2 separate regions of the Homo sapiens genome follow, and region 1 is linked to region 2. Evidence: promoter capture Hi-C in 16 types of primary human blood cells and fetal thymus (Javierre and others, 2016). All regions are on one chromosome and are shown on one strand. Each heading gives the region's core, a stretch centred on a gene start or on the middle of the fragment in contact. The rest is flanking DNA. Distances are from core to core; before and after follow the strand shown.

Evidence for each region. Contacts are between HindIII fragments. The CHiCAGO score rates a contact against its expected background, and 5 or more counts as called.
Region 1: a contact is called between a fragment that was not itself captured here and the fragment with the promoter of TERT in region 2, in 1 of 17 cell types (naive CD4 T cells). The highest score is 5.6, in naive CD4 T cells.

Annotation. Positions count from the first base shown.
Region 1 is chr5:1,527,162-1,529,861 of GRCh38, reverse strand. No RefSeq gene overlaps it. Among named protein-coding and RNA genes, the nearest start is that of LPCAT1, 4.6 kb to the right of the region's middle. The HindIII fragment of the contact is 1,380 bases long and covers 565-1,944 here.
Region 2 is chr5:1,293,818-1,296,534 of GRCh38, reverse strand. TERT (telomerase reverse transcriptase) reads left to right here and starts at 1,467. Exons shown (of 16, transcript NM_198253.3): 1 at 1,467-1,764; 2 at 1,869-2,717. The coding sequence starts at 1,546. RefSeq lists silencers at 1,121-1,210, 1,311-1,380, cis regulatory regions at 1,413-1,421, 1,433-1,441, 1,511-1,543, 1,546-1,902, enhancers at 790-1,506, 1,477-1,519 and promoters at 1,216-1,907, 1-1,907. The HindIII fragment of the contact is 13,041 bases long and covers 1-2,717 here.

The sequences.
Region 1 (2,700 bases), core at 5-2,504, 230 kb before region 2:
AACAGCATCAAAACATGAAATAGGAACAGAATTCGAAAACCTATGTAAGACCTATGCAGTGAAAATTATAAAACATTGCTGAGGGAAATTAAAGAAAACCTAAATAAATGATCTGTATACCATGCTCATGGATGGATAACTCAATATTGCTAAGATGGCAATTTTCCCAAATTGATCAATAGATTCAACACAATCTCATTAAAAATCCCACCAACCTTTTGTTTGTTTGTTCCTGGATACTTCAGTTTCTTGACAAAATGATTCTAAAATTTTGGCTGGGCATGGTGGCTCACACCTGTCATCCCAGCACTTTGGGAGGCCAAGGCGGGCAGATTACCTGAGGTCAGGAGTTCGAGACCAGCCTGGCCAACATGGTGAAACCCCGTCTCTACTAAAAAATATAAAAATTAGCTGGGCGTGCTGGTGCATGCCTGTAGTCCCAGCTACTCCGAAGGCTGAGACAGGAGAATCGCTTGAACTCAGGAGGCGGAGTCTGCAGTGAGCCGAGATCGGGCCACTGCACTCCAGTGCAGTGCAGTCTAATTTCAAGACTAATATAAAGCTTTAGTAATCAGTATAGTGTGATGTTGGCAGTTGCAGATGTACAGATCCATGGAACAAAATACAGAGTCCAGGAATAGACTCAACTATACATATATGGCCACTTAATTTTTTTACAAAGTTGTCAAGGTAGTTCAATGGAGAAAGAATATTCTCTTCAACAAATGGTGCCGAAACAGTTGAATATTCAGACGAAAACATTTGAAACTAAAAAACCTCTGCCTCCACTTTACTTTATGCCGTGTACAAATGTCAACTTGAAATGGAATACAGACCTAAATGGTAAAGCCAAAACTGTAAAACTTCTGAAGTAAGAAAATCTGAATGACCTTGATGCAGGTAAATATTTATAAAAGAGGATACCAAAACCATGATCCCTAAAAGAAAACGCTGATAAATTGGACTTCATCAAAATTTAAAATATCTGCTCTTTGAAAGACACTATCACTGCTTAACAAACCATCTCAGTCTGTAGTGACTGAAAACCACCACAATTTTCTGTTTGTCATGATTGTGGGTTGAATAGGAAGTCCATCCATTGTACATGATGGAGTCCCTCACTCTGGGGCTGTGCACTCCTCATCTGGAACATCCACAGGTCCTCTTGTACCCTGGGGTCTGTCTTCATACAACCTCTACACAAGCAGTAGTGGTTCTCCATATAATCCATACTGTCAAGAGTAATTTTTTTTTTTGAAAGAGAGTCTCGCTCTGTTCTTGCCCAGGCTGGAGTACAGTGGCGTGATCTTGGCTCACTGCAACCTCTGTCTCCCAGGTTCAAGCAATCCTCCTGCCTCAGCCTCCCGGGTAGCTGGGACTACAGGCGTGTGCCACCACACCTGGCTAATTGTCATATTTTTAGTAGAGATGGGGTTTTGCCATGTTGGCCAGGCTGGTCTCGAACTCCTGACCTCAGATGATCCGCCCACCTCGGCGTCCCAAAGTGCTGAGATTACAGGCATGAGCCACCGCGCCCGGCCCAAGAGTAATTTTTGAAACGATTATTACATCACTGCAGAAGTATGAAGCATCAAGGAATTAACAAAAATACAGAATCTTTATGTAGAAAAATTTAAAATGCTATCAAAGGGCATGAAAGAACATCTAAATAAATGGTAGAATAACCATGTTGGTGAAAAATCGTTCTCAAAATTATAAAGTGTCCATGCCACATCATCCATTTAAAAAATTTTTTTTTTGTATTTTCTAGTGCTTTGAAGCCTTGGAGCCTTGGAGCCTTGCTGGCCCTTCGAGGGCCCCTCCCAGGACCAGCCAGCTCTTACTGAAGTAACATTCTTAGGGAACAGGGAGAATGAACAGTAAGAATGAAGTAACATTCTTACTGAAGTACCCTGTACAATTAATGTGATTCAAAAGGAAGCTTCCAGCGGGAATTTTTAGCAATGGGGACAACTGCTTCCAAAATTTGGATGGAAAAATAAAATTCCCTGAATTCCTACTACAATTCTTGGGAAGAAGCGCCAACAGGAAGGAACCCCCTCTACAGTTACTAAGGCAGACGGTTGAAAGGTGTGAGACAGGAGTAAAGGAGTACGCGGACCGGCGGGTGAGACGGGAGTAAAGGAGTACACGGACCAATGGGTGAGATGGGGCAGCCAGAAGGAGCTTCAGGAACCCTTCTTTCTGTTCATGCTGGAAGTGGACCCACAAGTGGGAGTCTGTGATTGATACGTGGTGTTGAGAATATCAGGTCTCCATGCAGAGAAAAAAATCTTCAAATAGAATAAAATGCAACCATGAAAGGCAGAACTGAAAAAAGATGTTAGTAGAAAATGAAGGAGAATATCTTTTTCTATCCTATAGATAACTCTAAAATTCAAAAATTAAACAAACAAAACAAAAATACTCAGCCTTACCAGAACAAGCAGGTACCTTGTGTTCTCAATGCACTTGGAGTATAGGAAACACTTCTCTGTGAGCTTACACTCTTAAAACAGAGACAAAACCAGAGCAAGAAGCCTCAGGGGTGTGGTTACCAGCCCCAGGGAGCTGTGGGGGGCTTCCAGGAGGTTCCTGAGAACCACAGTGGGGGCTCCCTTTGTAGCTAAAGGGCCCTTAGGGTGGTTTTCCCAAAACTAAGTCCTAATGAGAAACTCATGTTTCCCCTGCTAGACAGAG
Region 2 (2,717 bases), core at 218-2,717:
TCTATGTTGGCTTCTCTGCAGAGAACCAGTGTAAGCTACAACTTAACTTTTGTTGGAACAAATTTTCCAAACCGCCCCTTTGCCCTAGTGGCAGAGACAATTCACAAACACAGCCCTTTAAAAAGGCTTAGGGATCACTAAGGGGATTTCTAGAAGAGCGACCTGTAATCCTAAGTATTTACAAGACGAGGCTAACCTCCAGCGAGCGTGACAGCCCAGGGAGGGTGCGAGGCCTGTTCAAATGCTAGCTCCATAAATAAAGCAATTTCCTCCGGCAGTTTCTGAAAGTAGGAAAGGTTACATTTAAGGTTGCGTTTGTTAGCATTTCAGTGTTTGCCGACCTCAGCTACAGCATCCCTGCAAGGCCTCGGGAGACCCAGAAGTTTCTCGCCCCTTAGATCCAAACTTGAGCAACCCGGAGTCTGGATTCCTGGGAAGTCCTCAGCTGTCCTGCGGTTGTGCCGGGGCCCCAGGTCTGGAGGGGACCAGTGGCCGTGTGGCTTCTACTGCTGGGCTGGAAGTCGGGCCTCCTAGCTCTGCAGTCCGAGGCTTGGAGCCAGGTGCCTGGACCCCGAGGTTGCCCTCCACCCTGTGCGGGCGGGATGTGACCAGATGTTGGCCTCATCTGCCAGACAGAGTGCCGGGGCCCAGGGTCAAGGCCGTTGTGGCTGGTGTGAGGCGCCCGGTGCGCGGCCAGCAGGAGCGCCTGGCTCCATTTCCCACCCTTTCTCGACGGGACCGCCCCGGTGGGTGATTAACAGATTTGGGGTGGTTTGCTCATGGTGGGGACCCCTCGCCGCCTGAGAACCTGCAAAGAGAAATGACGGGCCTGTGTCAAGGAGCCCAAGTCGCGGGGAAGTGTTGCAGGGAGGCACTCCGGGAGGTCCCGCGTGCCCGTCCAGGGAGCAATGCGTCCTCGGGTTCGTCCCCAGCCGCGTCTACGCGCCTCCGTCCTCCCCTTCACGTCCGGCATTCGTGGTGCCCGGAGCCCGACGCCCCGCGTCCGGACCTGGAGGCAGCCCTGGGTCTCCGGATCAGGCCAGCGGCCAAAGGGTCGCCGCACGCACCTGTTCCCAGGGCCTCCACATCATGGCCCCTCCCTCGGGTTACCCCACAGCCTAGGCCGATTCGACCTCTCTCCGCTGGGGCCCTCGCTGGCGTCCCTGCACCCTGGGAGCGCGAGCGGCGCGCGGGCGGGGAAGCGCGGCCCAGACCCCCGGGTCCGCCCGGAGCAGCTGCGCTGTCGGGGCCAGGCCGGGCTCCCAGTGGATTCGCGGGCACAGACGCCCAGGACCGCGCTTCCCACGTGGCGGAGGGACTGGGGACCCGGGCACCCGTCCTGCCCCTTCACCTTCCAGCTCCGCCTCCTCCGCGCGGACCCCGCCCCGTCCCGACCCCTCCCGGGTCCCCGGCCCAGCCCCCTCCGGGCCCTCCCAGCCCCTCCCCTTCCTTTCCGCGGCCCCGCCCTCTCCTCGCGGCGCGAGTTTCAGGCAGCGCTGCGTCCTGCTGCGCACGTGGGAAGCCCTGGCCCCGGCCACCCCCGCGATGCCGCGCGCTCCCCGCTGCCGAGCCGTGCGCTCCCTGCTGCGCAGCCACTACCGCGAGGTGCTGCCGCTGGCCACGTTCGTGCGGCGCCTGGGGCCCCAGGGCTGGCGGCTGGTGCAGCGCGGGGACCCGGCGGCTTTCCGCGCGCTGGTGGCCCAGTGCCTGGTGTGCGTGCCCTGGGACGCACGGCCGCCCCCCGCCGCCCCCTCCTTCCGCCAGGTGGGCCTCCCCGGGGTCGGCGTCCGGCTGGGGTTGAGGGCGGCCGGGGGGAACCAGCGACATGCGGAGAGCAGCGCAGGCGACTCAGGGCGCTTCCCCCGCAGGTGTCCTGCCTGAAGGAGCTGGTGGCCCGAGTGCTGCAGAGGCTGTGCGAGCGCGGCGCGAAGAACGTGCTGGCCTTCGGCTTCGCGCTGCTGGACGGGGCCCGCGGGGGCCCCCCCGAGGCCTTCACCACCAGCGTGCGCAGCTACCTGCCCAACACGGTGACCGACGCACTGCGGGGGAGCGGGGCGTGGGGGCTGCTGCTGCGCCGCGTGGGCGACGACGTGCTGGTTCACCTGCTGGCACGCTGCGCGCTCTTTGTGCTGGTGGCTCCCAGCTGCGCCTACCAGGTGTGCGGGCCGCCGCTGTACCAGCTCGGCGCTGCCACTCAGGCCCGGCCCCCGCCACACGCTAGTGGACCCCGAAGGCGTCTGGGATGCGAACGGGCCTGGAACCATAGCGTCAGGGAGGCCGGGGTCCCCCTGGGCCTGCCAGCCCCGGGTGCGAGGAGGCGCGGGGGCAGTGCCAGCCGAAGTCTGCCGTTGCCCAAGAGGCCCAGGCGTGGCGCTGCCCCTGAGCCGGAGCGGACGCCCGTTGGGCAGGGGTCCTGGGCCCACCCGGGCAGGACGCGTGGACCGAGTGACCGTGGTTTCTGTGTGGTGTCACCTGCCAGACCCGCCGAAGAAGCCACCTCTTTGGAGGGTGCGCTCTCTGGCACGCGCCACTCCCACCCATCCGTGGGCCGCCAGCACCACGCGGGCCCCCCATCCACATCGCGGCCACCACGTCCCTGGGACACGCCTTGTCCCCCGGTGTACGCCGAGACCAAGCACTTCCTCTACTCCTCAGGCGACAAGGAGCAGCTGCGGCCCTCCTTCCTACTCAGCTCTCTGAGGCCCAGCCTGACTGGC